Linked DNA regions of Homo sapiens: regions 2, 3, 4, 5 and 6 are each linked to region 1. The links are contacts of gene promoters, found by promoter capture Hi-C in blood cells and fetal thymus (Javierre and others, 2016). All regions are on one chromosome and are shown on one strand. The core of a region is centred on a gene start or on the middle of the fragment in contact, and the rest is flanking DNA. Distances in the headings are between cores, read along the strand shown.

Region 1 (3,180 bases), core at 486-2,985:
TACTTTGATGTTTGAACAACCTTTTCTTGATCACTTCTTCGCAATAAAAATATGACATATGTAGTAAACCTTAAAAAATTTCGTGTAACTTTATGGCTCTACGCTGGAATTCTTCTGAAGTGAGTAATCATCACAATCATCTTTAGTATATAATGGATCAAAATGACACGATTGCAAATATTGATAACACACAGTTATAAAAGGTGAAATTCTATTGGGAACACATCTCTTAGTGAGATAGATGGGGCTGACCCACCAATTAATTCATTTATCTGGATGAATAGTTCCTACTGGTAGATTAACAGGGTTCATTTTCAATTCTGTTGTTTTCACAGATACAAGTGCTGAGAAATGGTTTTACATAAATAGGTGAGAATGCTAGTAGTTTTGTTGTAAGCATGTCAATCAATCGTTTGGTTTCTTTCCGAGTTGCATGCCAAAAACCAAATAGTGTTCCTTCATCAGCTGACAATTCATGGGCCACCATTAATTTTGTTGAAAGCAAAGAACTGGAAACCATCTGACTTGAAAAGAATTTGTTATCCTGTTATTAGAGTCATTCACTTTCTCTAGTGACTTTTAATTATACTAATTACTCTCAGAGGCATTTAGGCAGGGTTGAGAAATTCAAGATATTAATTTCAACACATCTTTAGCATCACAATATCACAGTAATTTAAATATATTTTAGTTGTAGCTATTTAGCTCACTTTATTGTAAATAATAATTATGCTAATTAGCAACGATAGTATGTTTAACCAATTAATCATCAGATTAACTTTCGGTCAGAATAATGGACTTCAATTTTTAAGTCAAAGCAATGTACAGGCGTCCCAGTCACCATATTTCACTTCTGAATTCCAAGAGAGAAATGGCGTTGCGCCTTACTGACGCAAATATGTACCTAGATAAAGTAAGACGCTTTCATTTCAGGTATGTCTAACCCACGCTATCCTTGCTTTGTTCCAGGGCACTCTCGCAGGGAAAACGCCGCCTCTGACTACACTTGGGGTGGTTAAGACGAGATCTTCAAATGAAAATTCTCAACGCTACCGTCCACTCTCTCATACGCTTGAATTCCGAACACCCCAATACTGGCCAAAAGACTCCATTTCTCATGCTTGGTCTTGCTTTTGAGGTAGCTCTAACTCAGAGGCACGATTTTTAGAGCCTGGGAAGTCGGCTGCTGTTCAGTCCTTCCTAGCCTCCTCAGGCGGGAGCCGCGGCCCACTCAGTCAGTTGCGGCCCACTCAGTCAGTTCCGGCCCCAGCCCCGACTACCTGTCGCCTTGTTGGGGGAAGGAAGGCAGATACCGCAGCCCAGTCAGGGTAAGCCGCTGACCCAGAGGATGGAACTGCGGCTCTGGAGATTAGAAAGAGGAGGACTTCGCCGCGTTCACTAGCCCAGGAGGAAAGCCAGAACCCTAGGCCGGAACCCAGCGTCAAGACGTGGGGGAAGAATGTTGATGCAACACAGCTCAGCCGGGCCCGGAACTCGGCGTTTGGGTCCCCGCCCTCTTTGGGCCGGAAGTGAGGAAGGTGGGGCTGGGGCTTTTCCTGTAGAAACTAGGAGGGACTAGGGAGAGTCTGCAAGGGGAAGAGTGTGTCTGTGACACTGCCAGCAGCGCGCAGAGGGAGGGATGGGGGCGGGTATCGGCGTAGGGGCCCTCGGAAAGAACGGATATTGCTGTGACACCGCGGGGACGCTCTGAAGGGACGAGTGTCGGTGTGGCACCGGTGCACGCTGAAGGAGCCGGCGGAACCGGGTGGCCATGGGGATGTGGGCATCGCTGGACGCTTTGTGGGAGATGCCGGCCGAGAAGCGTATCTTCGGGGCCGTGCTGCTCTTTTCCTGGACAGTGTATCTTTGGGAGACCTTCCTAGCACAGCGGCAGGTGAGCCTAGACAGGGTCCAACCTGACCCCCATACCCGGCCAGCCCTGGAGTAGCCTTGGCTTCGACCCTGAGACTCTTGATTGCTTCGGTCCCCGCGCCAGTCTCGTCTTTGTGGTCCCTGCTGAGTCTCGTAACTTGGCCCGATGGCGGACTGTGGCTTTGAGGAGGGTCTTGGTGCGTCAAGGAAGTTTTCTGTAACGTTATCATGGGACCCAATCCCTTTAGGGCCTGGAGGAAGGCTTGGGCTCTTGTGCCCTCCCTGCAGCTTCCTTGGGATCCTTGGGCCCAGACTTGGCCTCCTTTATCTTTGGAATAAGCCTTTAAAAGGATTTAGACACCCAACTTCCTCATGACATTTATGTAATCATGCCTAACCATAGGATTTTGCAGTCCTTCCAAGAACTTGCACTCTTGTTTCTCCTTAAAGTGCATATATTGTTTCTGCTTGAAAAAACAAACAAACAAACAAAAAACTTATCGGGCCCGGCGTGGTGTCTCATGCCTGTAATCCCAGCACTTTGGGAGGCCGAGGCGGGCGGATCACCTGGGGTCAGGAGTTCGAGACCAGCCTGACCAACGTGGCGAAAACCCGTCTCTACTAAAAATAGAAAAATTAGCCGGGTGTGGTGGCGCGCACCTGTAGTCCCAGCTACTTGGGAGGCTGAGGCAGGAGAATCATTTGAACCCAGTAGGCGGAGGTTGCAGTGAGCTGAGATTGTGCCACTGCACTCCAGCCTGGGCGACAAGAGTGAAACTCAATCTCAAAATAAATAAATAAATGAAATTAAATGAAATATATTTCTCGTTTTTCATAAAATCAACATTATTTTAGTTTAAATATTAAAATGGTAAAATAAAAAGTGAAAGTTAACAATTTACCTGAGATAACCATGGTTTAGAGATCTGAACTTTTATTTATTTATTTTTAATCTTTATTTATTTATTTAATTTTAGAGTCTAGCTCTGTCACCAGGCTGGAGTACAGTGGCGTTATCTCGGCTCACTGCAAGAAACTAGGAGGGACGAGGGAGAGTCTGCAAGGGGAAGAGTGTGTCTGTGACACTGCCAGCAGCGCGCAGAGGGAGGGATGTTCAAATGATTCTCCTGCCTCAGCATCCCGAGTAGCTAGGATTACAGGCACGTGCCACCACGCCCAGCTAATTTTAGTATTTTTAGTAGAGACGGGGTTTCACCATCTTGGCCAGGATAGAATATTTATTGTATTTAGAGACAGGGGCTCACTCTGCCACCCAGACTGGAGCACAGTAGCATCATCATAGCTCAA
Region 2 (3,180 bases), core at 246-2,745, 210 kb before region 1:
ATAGTTTCTTTTTACTCTGCATGATATCCCTCCAAAAGCTTGTCTGTTCTCATGACTTCATGACAGTTCTTTGCCAATGATTTGCAAACATTATCTCCAGTCTTGATTCTTTCCTAGGCTTTATTTCTAAATACTCACTAGTCATTTCCACTTAGAAGCTTTGTCTTCTTTTCAAACTCAGCATATCCAAAACTGACCTCATCTTGTTGCCCTAACTAGAACATGCCACAACCCATTTCTGCCTATAATGTCATTATTCTCTTAAGGCCCCCATATTTGCAAATCAGGAGTCATCTTTGCCTCCCTTCTCTGAATGCTGCTGTGCTCACAGTCAGTACCATACAGTTAGTACTTGTTCTCAGTTTAATGCACACTTGTTTCATATGACCTCCTAGGGCAGAACCAAGATTCGTGGGTGGAAGTTGCAGGGAGGCAGATTTGCCTCCATATAAGGAAGAACTTTTTAATACTTTGAGCTGTCTGAATGGAATGGACTGCCTCCAGAAGTCTCGGGTTCTCCATCACTGAAGGTGTTTGAGCAGAGGCTGCCTGACTAATTGCTAATTGAAAGGACTGTTCTGGCATAAGATGGTGTTTTTACAAGATGATTTCTAGAATCCCTCTAATCCTGAGAGCCAGTGAGTCGATAGAAGGTAGCTTTGTCTCTCCTGCTAGACTCCCTTAGGACAGGGAGACTATTTTACCTTTCTTTTATATTCTGTACAGCACTTAATTCAGGTGCTGGTCTCTTAATTGCCTAAAGATGATTATTTACAGGTTAATTGATTCTTTTCATTTTGTTCCAATATTTGGTTAAACACCAAATATTGTGGATTTTTTTCCTTTGAAATATCTTGGGGAGACCAAGGCAGGTGGATCACCTGAGATCAGGAGTTCGAGACCAGCCAGGCCAACATGGCGAAACCTTGTCTCTACTAAAAATACAAAAATTCGCCGGGCGTGGTGGTGCATGCCTGTAGTTCCAGCTACTCGGGAGGCTGAGGCAGGAGAATCGCTTGAACCTGGAAGGTGGAGGTTGCAGTGAGCTGAGATCATGCCATCACACTCCAGCCTGGGCAACAGAGTGAGACTCCATCTCAAAAAATTACAGTAATAATAAATAAATACAAATATCTTTTGTAGTAGCATTATTTTAGATGAATAACAGCTTTTAACCTAACTTTCTAGACCCTAATATCATCACTTGTCTCCACATCCCATTCTGTTTATCAGACAGTACTTGTAAGCTCTTTGCTTTCATCATATTATTCTTTCACTCAAAACCCTTGAATGGCTTCACATTGATCACAACGTCAAATTTAAATTTTCCCTGGCTTTCAGTGCCCTCCATCATCTGGCCCAGCTTGCTCATGCATCCTTGTTCCCTATAATACTCCATGTTCCATGCAGGCTAACCCACTCACATTTTCTGTACATAGCCTGCTTGGTCTCCTTTTTTGCTTTTGACTTGCTCTGGAATGGCTTCCCTTTTTTCTCTTGCCTCTTCAAGATGCCTCACTTCCCTCCTGAAACCAAGCTACCGCCAGTCCTCATTGATTTCCTCTGAACTCTCAGAGCATGTAGTAATTTATGTAATTCAGAACCGTAGCAACAACATTCTGTGAAGAAAAATCTGCAAGAATAGGCTGATAATTTAACTTTCCCTAATCCAACTGGATATTCCCATAATAAAACTTTTAAAAATATAGGCTGGCTGTCATGGTTCACATCTGTAATCCCAGCATTTTGGGAGGCTGAGGCAAGAGGACTGTTTGAGCCCAGGAGTTTGAGACTAGCCTGAGCAACATAGTGAGACTCTGTCTCTATCACACACATACACACACACACACACAAAAGCCAGGCATGGTGGCATGTAGTTATAGTCCCAGTAGTCCCAGCTACTCAGGAGGCTGAAGCCAGGAGGTCAAGGCTGCAGTGAGCTGTGAACACACCATTGCCCTCCAGCCTGGTCAATAGAGCCAGACCCTGTTTTTTGTTTGTTTGGGGTTTTTTTGTTTTGTTTTTTTGTTTTTTGAGATGGAGTCTCACTCTGTCGCCCAGGCTGGAGTGCAGTGGCGCGATCTTGGCTCACCGCAAGCTCCGCCTCCCGGGTTCATGCCATTCTCCTGCCTCAGCCTCCTGAGTAGCTGGGACTATAGGCCCCTGCCACCGTGCCTGGCTAATTTTTTTTATTAGAGACGGGGTTTCACAGTGTTAGCTAGGATGGTCTCGATCTCCTGACCTTGTGATCCGCCTGCCTCGGCCTCCCAAAGTGCTGGGATTACAGGCGTGAGCCACCGCGCCCAGCCTGTTTTTTTTTGTTTTGTTTTGTTTTTTAAATAAAAGCAGAAAAACTTTAACAAATATAATCTACAGTATTTATTCCATTCACATTTTATTTTGTTGTCTTAACCAATATGAGTGCTTCTGGAGGGGAGGGACCATGTGTCTTCTATTTCTTCAGTAGGCCCACAATGCTAAGCACTTTGATTTTATTAGCATCTTCTGTGTGCCTAGTTTTTCTAGGTGCTGGGAGATAGAGTCAGTGCAGGAGGTAGAATGGATAAATTCCCATCCTTCTTGAGCCTATATTCTAGTACGTAATATGTAGTGCTAACATTTTACATTTGAATTGCATTTTAAGGCTTCTGAAGTGATTACTCGTATCTATGAAATCACCTCCTTTGATCCTTATATCTGTGTATGCTAGATGAGGATTATAATCCATTATGTGACTGTGTAAAGTTGCACAGTTAGTATGTACAGCTTGGGACTCAGGCCTCAGTCTTCTAATTTTATTTGGACTTGTGTAATTTTGACCACCTGTGTTTCTGAAGCTTTTATGATGAATGCTTAAGTAGTTGGGAATCCGGACATTCATTTATGGAGGTTTACGTATAGTTCTTGGTTATTGACAATTAGAAATGGCAAGGAGCAAGATTAGGCAGACATACAGTTCTCTGCTCTGATACTTCTGTGTTTGGGAGAAGCCTTATTTATTTATTTATTTAAATAAAAGAGATGAGATTTTGCTATGTTGCCCAGGCTGGTCTTGAACTTCTGGCCTTAAGCCATCCTCCTGCCTTGGCCTCCCAAAGTGCTGGGATTATAGGTGTGAGCTATCATGCCTGGCCTGAGAAGCCTTATTTTAAACATTTGCTTTCCAAATATGTCTCATCT
Region 3 (3,180 bases), core at 480-2,979, 190 kb after region 1:
ACTGGGAGCCCCTGAACGCAGCCAACCCGGCGCGCACCGGTGGGGGCGTCTGCGCTGGCGGAGCGGCTCCCCGGGAGGACGCTGGGAACCATGCTCTAGCCAGCCGCTGCGCAGGCGCACTGGGCCCCGACTGCCCGCCGCAGCGCTACGTGGGAGCTTGGCCGCGCAGTGCCGGAACCCGGCTGCAGCGGTGGGAAGGCGGGGGCGTGCCGGCCCAGCGGGGAGAGGGTGAGCGGGTGGCTGTCCCGGGCTTGGGGAGCTGGGCGAGCCGGGAAGCGCGAGTTCCGCCCGCGGCCACCCTGTCGCGCGCGGTGCTCTCCGCAGCCCCGGAGTCGTGCTCAGACAAAGGCTGGGAGGCTAGGGCCGGGGGCGTTTTGCTTTGTGGGGAGGACTTAGCCTCTCATTTGGGGAGGAGGAGGCGGGGTCTAGCGGTTTCGCGGTTTGCTACAGCCGACTAGTGAAAGAGCTGGGATTCCAAATCCCCGGCTACTTTACACATAATTACTGCCCCAAACAAAGAATTGGGTTGTATTCGTCTCTTTGTGCTTCCTGACATGTGCGCGGTGCTTTGAATTTTGTGGGCTGTGTCTGCCCACCGTCTCCGTGTATCTTTTGGAAACATTTTACAGTGATCCATATATGTTCTAGCGTTCTGCCCTATGACTGAGCCTCCTTAGTCCTTTGCTGATTCTAATGTCTTCTGCTCAGCATCTGCAGGGGCTGCTGAGAGTAAATACTTGGCGCCTCCAGCTGCTGGCCAAGGAGACAGATGGAGCTCAAGTTGGGAGATACGCCCTGAGAGCCGATGATAGACACAAGTCCAGATCTCGGATTTTGATACTGTATGTTCCCTGGGTTCCTGAGAGAGGACATTGAGGAGTAGGAGTCGGCGATTAAGGAGATCGGTACAATTGGGAAGCCTCCTGTCAGAGCTTCCAGCAATTTCCTCATCAGAGGTGGACAAGCCCTATGGGCTAAGACAGAGGGTCCTCAGAAAGGAGTGCGGACGCCGTCATGCTGCAGCAGCTCCTGATCACCCTGCCCACCGAGGCCAGCACCTGGGTGAAGTTGCGTCATCCAAAGGCGGCCACGGAGCGGGTGGCCCTGTGGGAGGATGTGACTAAGATGTTTAAAGCAGAAGGTAAGAATAAACTGATGGGTGGGAGGGAGGAAAAGCAGTCCCCTCTAGTGTGAGAAGGAATGAGTCACTTGAGTGGAAGCATCTCTTAGGGAGACGAGTGGGTGGAGGGTTTCCGGAGTTGTTGATTGTGGCTCCTAGTCTGGGGTTTTCCTAAGTAGTGGTGGTCTTTTCAGCCTAGGACCAGTATTTCAGTGTCATGGTTATGTATATTATTTATTTTCATCTTTCCCATGGCCATGTGGGGCAGGATGGACTTAACCTGATTTTTCTTATTCTAACAGTGGGGAAATGTAAATCAAATGGGAGGCCTGCCCAGGGTCACACAGGAACTTGGTGGCTAGGTCAGAAAGAGAAGCAGCAGGGGAAGTACCAGGTGAGCCTGGAGTAACTTGTGCTAGAAAGCAAGGAAGAGCTTAAAGACTATGGATATGTGTCAAAAGAGGCCAGGTTTAAGGGTCTCTCACTCGACAGATTTGGGAAAGCTTAAGTATCCAAACTGATGGTAACACCTTGAATAAGTAAAATTCCACATGATCACCTTGACACTTAAAATAGAGAAAGACGTGGGGGGGGGGGAATTCATTTGCAAACATTGGAGGTAATTAATACACTGATTCCTTACTTTGAAAAATAGGTTATTATGGGAATGAATGTGCATTTACCTTGCCTTTTAGATCCTCTTCAGTTGGTGAGGGAAAGCTTTTTACAGAAAATGCGTGCCAATAATGAAGGTAGAAAGAGGCCAGGTGTGGTGGCTCATGCCTGTAATCCCAGCAATTTGGGAAGCCAAGGTGGGCGGATTGCTTGAGACCAGGAGTTTGAGGTCAGCAGTTTGAGACCAGCCTGGCCAACATGATGAAACCCCATCTCTGCTAAAAATACAAAAATTAGCTGGGCGTGGTGGCACATGCCTGTAATCCCAGCTACTCGGGAGGTTGAGGCACGAGAATCGCTTGAACTAGGAAAGGGGAGGTTTCAGTGAGCTGAGATGGCGCCACTGCACTCCAGGCTGGGTGACAGAGCAAGACCTTGTCTCAAAAATAAATAAATAAATAAATAAATGTAGAAAGAATGATAGAATCTTTTACCGTAAATAAAATAATTGAAAGGTTAATGGGGAACAGATACTCACATGATATCAAAGTATTATCCCCTCAAATTACTTACTAAATGGCAAGGAATGAACATAATTTTCCAATAGTGAGGTGTGGTGGTCACAGTTTTAATCAAATGTCTCAGTAATGGGATAGCCGGGCATTTTATACTTTGCAGATACTGTAATATAAAGCACCTGGTACCACCTACAAGGTATTCCTACCAAAAATGTTGAACATGATCCTAAATTAAGTTTAAAGACTGAACTGCTGGTTTACAGAAAATACAGGGGATGGAGAAATGAGATAAACCTCACATTGAGGATACAGTCAGACTGTTCTTGTATCTTAAAAAGACAACATCATGAAGAAAGGGGAAGTACTTATTCTAGAGTAAAAGAGACTAGAGGTAACAACCACTTTGAATGTGTGAGCCTTGATTAACTCCTGGTTTGGAAAAAATCCAGAATAAAAGTTGAGGAAACAGTTGAGGAAATCTGAATATGGACTGAATATTTAGATGATACTATGGAATTATTGTTAATTTTCATAGATTTAATAAATAGTACTGTGGTTGTACAAGAGAAGATCCTTATTTGAAATATTTAGGGATAAAGTATTATGATGCAGACGACTTTGAAGTGCTTCAGAAAAAATGTAGATAGGTAAAGCAAATATGGTAAATATTAACAATTGTTGAATCTAGATGTGGATGTATAGATGTTCAATATTCATGATAAAAAGTTGGAATAAAATACAAAGACAGTTATTCATGTGCCTTAATTCCTAGTGGTTTTTTTTTTTTTTTTTTCCTGTCACCCAAGCCGGAGTTCAATGGCTCGATCTTGGCTTATTGCAACCTCTGCCTCCCGGGTTCAAGTGATTCTCCTGCCTCAGCCTCCCAAGTAGCTGGGATTACAGGCGCCTGCCACCACGCCCAGCTAA
Region 4 (2,500 bases), core at 1-2,500, 180 kb before region 1:
ATAATTAATTAAAAAGCTTAATGAAGTTTTGGAGTAAAATGGTAAGTACGTTAACTTGAGATATATTTTCAAAATGCAGTTTGTCCTGAGTATTAAAATTGAGGTGTATTTTCAAAAATGCCAAAAAGAATATCTCCTACTTCTTTTTCTTTCTCTTTTTTCTTTTTCTTTCTTTCTCTTTCTTCCTTTCTTTTCTTTCTTCTCTCCTCCCCCTCCTCCTGTCCCCCCCGCTTCTTCTTCTTCTTCCTCTCTCTCTCTCTGTCTCTCTTTCTCTTTCTTTCTTTCAAGACGGAGTCTTGCTCGGTTGCTTAGGCTGGAGTGCAGTGGTGCGATCTCGGCTCACTGCAACCTCCACTTCTCTGGCTCAAGCGATTCTCCTGCCTCTGCCTCATGAGTAGCTGGAATTACAGGCGCATGCCACCATGCCTGGGTAATTTCTTGTATTTTTAGTAGAGATGGGGTTTCACTGTGTTAGCTAGGATGGTCTTGATCTCCTGACCTCAGGTGATCCACGTGCCTCGGCCTCCCAAAGTGCTGGGATTACAGGCGTGAGCCACCACACCCGGCCAGTTTTTTCTAAGTATTAAAAATAGATATGCAATTGAGATTGCTCTATACAGTGTTCTAGATTCTGATTTTTGAAAAGCTCAGAGTCAGAGGACTACCTATAGGTGGGCAAGCCATAGACGACACTGCCTCAGAATGCCATAGGTAAGTGGGACTGAGCCAAAGACAGAACATTAGCTAGGTAACTTAAAAAACATCCAACCCAGGACAGGCGCGGTGGCTCACGCCTATAATCCCAGCACTTTGGATGGCCAAGGCAGGCGGATCACCTGTGGTCAGGAGTTCAAGACCAGCCTGACCAATATGATGACACTTTGTCTCTACTAAAAATACAAAAATTAGCTGGGCATGGTGGCGGGCACCTGTAATCCTAGCTACTTGGGAGGCTGAGACAGGAGAATTCGCTTGAACCCGGGAGGCGGAGGTTGCAGTGAGCTGAGATCATGCCATTGCACTCCAGCCTGGGCAATGAGCAAAACTGTCTCAAAAGAACAAAACAGAAAAACCATATCCAACCGTTAGGTAACAAACCCTGGACACTTTCATATTCTGGAGTTGAAAATGTCATTACCCATAGCCTAGATGCTGGAGAACAACCTCTGGTTGGGAAGATAAGCAGTTACGACAGTGCCAGAATGGTGCTTCTGCCGTGGCCAACATCATTTTGAGTTTTCACAGTAAGGAAGTTCTTAGCTGTAATTTCTCAAGCCTTTTTTTTTTTTTTTCTCAAATCAGATTCTAGCTTCCCTTTTTACCTCACCACCCAAGTTGAGGCACCCAGTGCAAAAGAAAAGCCAAGCCAAGAGGAGACAAATGACCTCTGAAATAACATGGAGGAATTCTAGTAGACGGTGATTGGTTCAGATGTAGTACTTAGCATTTTGGAGAGTCTGTCTCCAATATAAAATCCTTAGGGCTGGGCGTGGTGGCTCACACCTGTAATCCCAGCACTCTTGAAGGCTGAGGCAGGTGGATCACCTGAGGTCAGGAGTTGAAGACCAGCCTGGCCAACATGGTGAAACCCCGTCTCTACTAACAAAACAAAGTATTAGGCATGGTGGCGTGTGCCTGTAATCCCAGCTACTAGTGAGGCTGAGGCAGGATAATCGCTTGAACCCAGGAGGTGGAGGCTGCAGTGAGCTGAGATCACACCATTGCACTCCAGCCTGGGTGACAAAGCAAGACTGTCTCAAAAAAAAAAAAAAAAAAAAAAAAAAAAAAAAATCCTTAAAGTGTAGAAGGCCCCAGAACTGGAGGTGGCAAATTACTGCAACTTCTGCTTAAGATACAGGACCTACTGCTAAACAAAATTCAAAACTCTAGTCCCACTCAACCTCCTGCAGGAGCCTCCCTTGTCAGTGCGTAATTTAGAAACAGGATTTCACATCTATTAATGTTTAAAAGTAATGTCCCTTGGCCAGGCGCACTGGCTCACGCCTGTAATCCCAGCACTTTGGGAGGCTGAGGTGGGTGGATCACCTGAGGTCAGGAGTTCAAGACCAGCCTGGCCAACATGGTGAAACTCCATCTCTCCTAAAAATACAAAAATTAGCCAGGTGTGATGGCACACACCTGTAATCCCAGCTACTAAGGGGGCTGAGGCAGGAGAATTGCTTGAATCTGGGAGGCAGGGGTTGCAGTGAGCCAAGATTGCTCCACTGCACTCCAGCCTGGGTGACAGAGCGAGACCCCGTCTCAAAGAAAAAAAAAGGAATGCCCCTCATCATGCATGGAGGCTTCCTGGATTTGTAGCAGACTGTACCTCAGCCAAGGCAGCTAGTTTTAAAACCTTTTTATCAAAAGAAGGGAATCAGACATGAGGTTTCTCTTGTTGTTTGGAAACCATAAGGTTTCAGGATGTAGTGGATTTTTGTAACCCAGTGCCTAATAAGCTAGAGCACATAATCAAGAGCCTAACAAGCTTCACCCATAT
Region 5 (2,793 bases), core at 1-2,500, 170 kb before region 1:
TCCCCAAACCCGCAGAGTTTCAGGATTTTCCTGATATGGGCAAATGCAAATATTTCTTTCAACTTTCATAGAAAATAAATTAAGCTCCAGCCAGGCATGGTGGCTCACACCTGTAATCTCAGCACTTTGGGAGGCTGAGGTGGGTGGACTACCTGAGGTCAGGAGTTCGAGACCAGCCTAGACAACATGGTAAAACCCCATCTCTACTAAAAATACAAAAAATTAGCTAGGTGTGGTGGTGAGCACCTATAGTCCCAGCTACTCGGGAGGCTGAGGCAGGAGAATCACTTGAACCTGGGACGTGGAGGTTGCAGTGAGCTGAGATCGCGCCACTGCACTCCAGCCTGGGCAACAAGAGAGAAATTCTGTCTCAAAAAAAAAAAAAAAAGAAAAGAAATTAAGTTCCATAAAGCTTCTTACACAGGAACATTTTAGGAAATTTCCCTTCCAAGATAGGTGACAATCTTGAATTGGAGGAGTGGATTTATCTGAATAAAAGAAACAAAAATCAATTCCATATAAGTGGTACAATATAACAAAAAGGAACGTACAGAAATTGGCCTCCCTGGGAGAATCCCATAGCATTGTAGCCTTGCTGCAATTTAGGATCCTTAGCAAGTGCCTGACACACTGTTGTTACTTGGGAATTGACATTCAAGAAGAAGCTGTTCTCCACGTCCTAAAAAAGAAGCCAGAGAGAAGTGAGAGGATGGGACTGAAAACAACCACTGACATCTTCTCTAAGAGGTAAACTCATTTAGGTTGGTATCCTCACATGAGCCACTCAAGGGTGAAAGTATCACTGTATGATCTGCTGCTGAAAACACAAGGCAAAGCATTTTAACAGTATATGCTATGAAATCAGTCAGCAACCCTTCAAAGGAACAGCTGTGAAGCGCCTTACCTCCATCAGGGTCTTCCCAATCTCTAAAGATAAGACGTAAATTCCAGGTATTTTCTTCTCCACCATTTTTTTAATAGCACCCATGCTTAAGGGATTGCAACAGCTGTCTCCTAGCCAACAAAACACAATGATGGAAACTCATGAGTCCAAATATTGTTTATTGTTTAAAAACTCTGAGGCCTCAAACAGCATTATCAAGGATGTGAAAACAATGTATAGAATGGAAGAAAATATTTGCAAAACAGTTATCTGATAAGGGCTTAATATCCAGAATATACAAGGAATCTATAACTCACTTACAACTCAACAAAAAGATAACCTAATTTAAAAATGGGAAAAGAAATTAAACAGATATTTTTCCAAAGAAGATATACAAATGGCTAACCACTGGCATGTGAAATGCAAACCAAAACCACGATGAGATACCATTTCACACAGACTAGGATGTCTTTAATAATAATTTTTTAATAGAAAATAACAAGTATTGTCAACGATGTAGAAAAATGGGACCCCTTGGACATTGCTGGTGGGAATGTAATAAGCAGCCACTGTGAAAAACAGTTTGGTGGTTTCTCAAAAAGTTAAACATACGATTACTAAATGACTCAGCAATTCAACTCCTAGTTATACACCCCAAAGAAATAAAAACACACGTCCATGCAGAAACTTGCATATAGATGTTAACAGCAGCAGTGTTTGTAATAGTCAAAAGGGAGAAACAATCCAGCAGTCCATCAATGAATGAATGAATAAAATGTGGTATATTCACACAATGGAATATTACTGAGTTATAAAAAAGGAACAAAGTGCTGACACATGTTACAACTTGAATGAACCTCAGAAACATTATACTAAGTGAAAGAAGCCAGACTCAAAAAGCCACATAATGCATGATTCCTTTCATAGGATAAATAAAGAACAGGCAAATCCACTGAGATACAGAAAACTAAGCTGGAGATTATCAAGAAGTAGTAGGAGGGGGCAATAGGGAGTGATTGCTTAATGGCTATGTGTGTTTTTCTGGGGTGTTGAAAAAGAAGTGTTAGTTGCACAACATTGCAAATACACTAAATGCCACTGAATCGTACCATTTTAAATGGTTAACTTTACATGAATTTTTACCTCAATTTTAAAAAACAGAAGAAAGAACATTTTTTGCTTAGCTCCTGTTTATCAAGTAATAACAAGCTTCAAAAGTCCATACAGGAGCTGGGTGTCATGGCTCACGTCTGTAATCCCAGCAGTTTGGGAGGCCGAGGTGGGTGGATCACAAGGTCAGGAGCTCGAGACCAGCCTGGGCAACATGGTGAAACCCCATCTCTACTAAATATACAAAAATTAGCCGGGTGTGGTGGCACATGTCTGTAGTCCCGCTACTTGGGGGGCTGAGGCAGGAGAATCGCTTGAAACTGAAAGGTGGAGGTTTCAGTGAGCCAAGATCATGCCACTGCACTCCAGCCTGGGCAACAGAACAAGGCTCCATCTCAAAAAAAAAAAAAAAAAAAAATCCATATAGGCCAAGCATGGGCTCATACCTATCATCCCAGCGCTTTGGTAAGACGAGGCAGGAGGATTGCTTGAGGCCAAGAGTTCGAGACCAGTTTGGGCAACATAACGAGACCCTGTCTCAAAAAAACCAAAAAGCCCATATAGGATAATTAAGACACCAAATTTACAAATGAAAAATAAGCAGAGGTACACATTCCCTTCCCCTATCACAGGGGATATTTGGGGTGAACAGATGCAAAGTTTTCTCTTCAGGGCCAGGACTAGGGTGAGGCAAATTAAGCATCTAGGACAGCGGTCTTCAACCTTTTTGGCACCAGGGACCAGGTTTGTGGAAGACAATTTTTCAAAACTGTTCCACCTCAGATCATCAGGCATTTGCT
Region 6 (3,180 bases), core at 370-2,869, 160 kb after region 1:
AGACAGAATACTGCAAGGTTCAAATGGCATGGCAATGGGCATATAAACACCAAATCCAGCGGAGCCAGCATCACAGAGGAGACTGTAAAAAGAGAAGATGGAGCAGGGGCCTAGCAATAATACCACAGATAAAGTAACCCCCCAGAAGGAGAAGGACCTACCCTCATCAAAGACATACTGAGAACAGGTCTGAGATGTGGTAGATTAGAACTCTGTTTACTTGGAGGATCAAAAATAAGAGACTTCAGATATATAGGAGTATAGGTAGTAACCTTGGGAAAGCATTGCTTCTCGGGGAGATGGGCATGGCCTAAAAGGAGGAGGTACCCTTTAGAGGACTGGTGGTGAAGGAAAGAAAGACACGAGAAATGGGAATGAGAATCACAAAATCAAATATACACCTTCTTCCCTCTTCCAAAATAACCACTTCACTAATAAAAGATGGTGCTCTTAATCTAAGAAATTTAGTAAGCCTCCCCAAACCTTCACACCTATTATTGCTGATTGAGAAAAAATAAGACCTTACAAAAATGAACCAAACATGGAAGCTGACATTTGTACACAACTACTACAGGAAGAAAATAGAAAATGAAAATCAAAACATTTCACGTAATGAATATTCTCCCTCAAAAAACAGTCATGAAGCAGAAGAAAATTGTTACACAATCTACCAATCTGAATTAAATGTCCTTAAACATTTGCAGATAAGACAAAACACCTTAAATCAGAAATTCAAAAACTTAAAGCCAAAATGGATAAAAAACTGCATGCTGTGAAATGAAAGTTTACTAAACTCAGAAAAGAAATTGAAGAAAAAGCCAAAATTTTCGTATAAAGACTCAATTACAAGTTAGCTAAAGAACAATAGATTGAGCTGAAAATATATTCGGCATTGAGGAAAGGCATGAAACAGCTAAGAGAATGAAAACTAAATATAGAAAGTAGTAAAAAGAATTAGATGGAAATTAATATGGAAGTTAGGCAAAGAAAACTTACATATATTTGGAGATGCCCAAAGAAATAAAGACAAAATAAATAAAATATGGGACAGTATTAATGTGTTTAACACCAGAAAACATTCTAGAAATAAAAGACTTGGATATAATATGGAAAGAGCCCACTGTGTGTCTGGGAAAATTGACCCAGAACAGTCAACTTTAAAACATATCCCAGCAAATCTACAGACTTTAAAGAACATTCAAAATGTTTAGGGGTCCAACCTTTTCCATACCTCCTACCCACAAAAATCTGTTACTTAGAACAAACAAAAAATACCCAGGTTGACATCAGACTTCCTAGCAGCAAAATACAAAAAGAATAACAAGGAGAGTAGTATTTTAAAGACACTCAAGTGTATGCAAGACACAACAAGTATTTTACAACCAAGCCAGCCAAGCTATCCTTCAGGTATCAAGGCTGTAAAAAATAAATATGCAAGAACTCAGAGAATATCACACTTACAAGACTTTCCTGGGGAATCTAACAGAAGATAAGCTTCATCCACCTAAGAGATGACTGGGGTCATTTTCATTTTTGGCAAAAGAACTGATGGTGAGAATTGAATGTTTAATTGAGAATCTAAGACTAAAACAAAGGTGGTGACAAGCGTTGCAGAATATACATTATATTCTGACAAACAAATACAACTGAAAATGAAGGAGGAGGGAGAAAAGTTGAATAATAAATATTGTATGGGAAAGAAGTAGAAATCGAAGGATGCAATAAGCTGACAAACCAAATCACGGAAGCTTGAATAAGGAAAAAGGAGACCAAGGACATTGCTAAAAAGTATTACTATGAAGGTAATCACTAGAACAAACACGTGAAATGTTCTGAATACCAAGATAATTTTCTTCCTTTCTTTTTTTTTTTTTTTTTTGAGACAAAGTCTCACTCTGTCACCCAGGCTGGAATGCAGTGGCACAATCTCGGCTCACTGCAACCTCCGCCTCCTGGGTTCAAGTGATTCTTCTGCGTCAGCCTCCCGAGTAGCTGGGATTACAGGCACCCGCCACCACACCCGGTTAATTTTTTTTGTATTTTTTAGTAGAGACGGGGTTTCACCATGTTGGCCAGGCTAGTCTCAAACTCCTGACCTCAGGTGATCCACCCACCTTGGCCTCCCAAAGTGCTGGGATTACAGGCATGAGCCACTGCGCCCAGCTGAGAATTTTTAAAAACAGACTACAAAGTGCAGCAAATACAATAAACACAGTAAAAATCTAATATGATGGAGTTGAGACCAAACATACCAGTCATACCAGTAGGCAACTCTTCTATCAAAAGAAAATGATGTTCAAATTGGCTAACAAAGCAACACTAGTTTTGCACTAGGTACAAAGAAATACAAAGTGATTTAATGTGAAAACCAAGAGACAGGCAAAGGAACCCCAGAGAGGTGGTATGGTGCATGTGTACTGCACATGTGCATGTATAGCTATCTTTATCAGGGTTATACTTATTTATAAGAAGTACTTTTATGTTTTTGTTTCTCTGTGGTCCAGAATAATTTATGTAGCTCTGGTCTTTGAAGGTTTTGTGGAATTCCCATGTGAAGTTTGTGGGCACTATTGCTTTTTTTGTAGCAAATCTTTGATACTTTTCTCTGTTTCTTCTATGGAAGTCAATTTTGGAAAACTGTATTTACCTAGATTTTCCATTTCGCCAAGGTTTTCAAATTTATCAAAAGTTATGCCTAGCAGTCTCATTAATTTTTTTCAAAGAACCAGGATTTCGATTTATTGGTGCTACATTTTTCCGTTTTCTACCTCAATTTCCGTAGGCTTTCTATGGGTTTACTTTGTTATTTTCTAGCTTTCATAGTGGAGATTTTAATTCACTTATTTTCATTGTTTCGTTTTTATTTATATAAGTAATGGAATGCTATAAGTCTGATGGGAATATGTCAGAGGGACGCATGAGCCAACTTCCAGTGGCTCTGACTGGCCAAATGTGAGACAATTTGAACATCAAAAAGAGTAACAACAGTAATGGATTATGACACACTGAATGGAAAAAACAAAACAAAACCATGAGTCCACGGTGATATTTTTTAAAAACCAGGTGTGGAATGGAGGGAGGAAAAGCCTTCTTTACAGAAGAATGACAGTAGTTGTAAAAAGAGCAAAGGATTGACACATTTGCAAAGAAATGCCCTTCAGATTATTTATTAATTATAAT

What was found. Contacts are between HindIII fragments. The CHiCAGO score rates a contact against its expected background, and 5 or more counts as called.
Region 2: a fragment that was not itself captured here is called in contact with the fragment with the promoter of ZMPSTE24 in region 1 in 1 of 17 cell types (naive B cells); the score reaches 5.2 in naive B cells.
Region 3: a fragment that was not itself captured here is called in contact with the fragment with the promoter of ZMPSTE24 in region 1 in 5 of 17 cell types (naive CD4 T cells, naive B cells, total B cells and 2 more); the score reaches 7.4 in naive CD4 T cells.
Region 4: a contact is called between a fragment that was not itself captured here and the fragment with the promoter of ZMPSTE24 in region 1, in 5 of 17 cell types (erythroblasts, naive B cells, naive CD4 T cells and 2 more). The highest score is 7.4, in erythroblasts.
Region 5: a contact is called between a fragment that was not itself captured here and the fragment with the promoter of ZMPSTE24 in region 1, in 8 of 17 cell types (erythroblasts, naive B cells, megakaryocytes and 5 more). The highest score is 7.9, in erythroblasts.
Region 6: a fragment that was not itself captured here is called in contact with the fragment with the promoter of ZMPSTE24 in region 1 in 17 of 17 cell types (naive B cells, total B cells, total CD8 T cells and 14 more); the score reaches 14.0 in naive B cells.

The regions. Positions count from the first base shown.
Region 1 is chr1:40,256,501-40,259,680 of GRCh38, forward strand. It overlaps ZMPSTE24 (zinc metallopeptidase STE24), which reads left to right and starts at 1,736. Exons shown (of 10, transcript NM_005857.5): 1 at 1,736-1,894. The coding sequence starts at 1,772. RefSeq lists enhancers at 967-1,096, 1,327-1,596, 1,677-1,956, 2,047-2,146. The HindIII fragment of the contact is 15,848 bases long and covers 1-3,180 here.
Region 2 is chr1:40,049,560-40,052,739 of GRCh38, forward strand. All of the region lies in intron 1 of CAP1 (cyclase associated actin cytoskeleton regulatory protein 1), which reads left to right. Among named protein-coding and RNA genes, the nearest start is that of CAP1, 10 kb to the left of the region's middle. The HindIII fragment of the contact is 2,679 bases long and covers 157-2,835 here.
Region 3 is chr1:40,449,948-40,453,127 of GRCh38, forward strand. ZFP69B (ZFP69 zinc finger protein B) reads left to right here and starts at 529. Exons shown (of 5, transcript NM_023070.3): 1 at 529-1,141. The coding sequence starts at 1,015. ZFP69B-DT (ZFP69B divergent transcript) reads right to left here and starts at 92. Exons shown (of 5, transcript NR_198977.1): 1 at 1-92. RefSeq lists a silencer at 148-407 and an enhancer at 623-1,822. The HindIII fragment of the contact is 217 bases long and covers 1,622-1,838 here.
Region 4 is chr1:40,074,201-40,076,700 of GRCh38, forward strand. The region is part of intron 8 of PPT1 (palmitoyl-protein thioesterase 1); the gene reads right to left. Among named protein-coding and RNA genes, the nearest start is that of PPT1, 22 kb to the right of the region's middle. The HindIII fragment of the contact is 2,472 bases long and covers 15-2,486 here.
Region 5 is chr1:40,091,494-40,094,286 of GRCh38, forward strand. PPT1 (palmitoyl-protein thioesterase 1) reads right to left here. Exons shown (of 9, transcript NM_000310.4): 2 at 905-1,014; 3 at 552-679. Among named protein-coding and RNA genes, the nearest start is that of PPT1, 4.4 kb to the right of the region's middle. The HindIII fragment of the contact is 1,680 bases long and covers 411-2,090 here.
Region 6 is chr1:40,417,420-40,420,599 of GRCh38, forward strand. The region is part of intron 9 of SMAP2 (small ArfGAP2); the gene reads left to right. Among named protein-coding and RNA genes, the nearest start is that of ZFP69B-DT, 31 kb to the right of the region's middle. The HindIII fragment of the contact is 254 bases long and covers 1,493-1,746 here.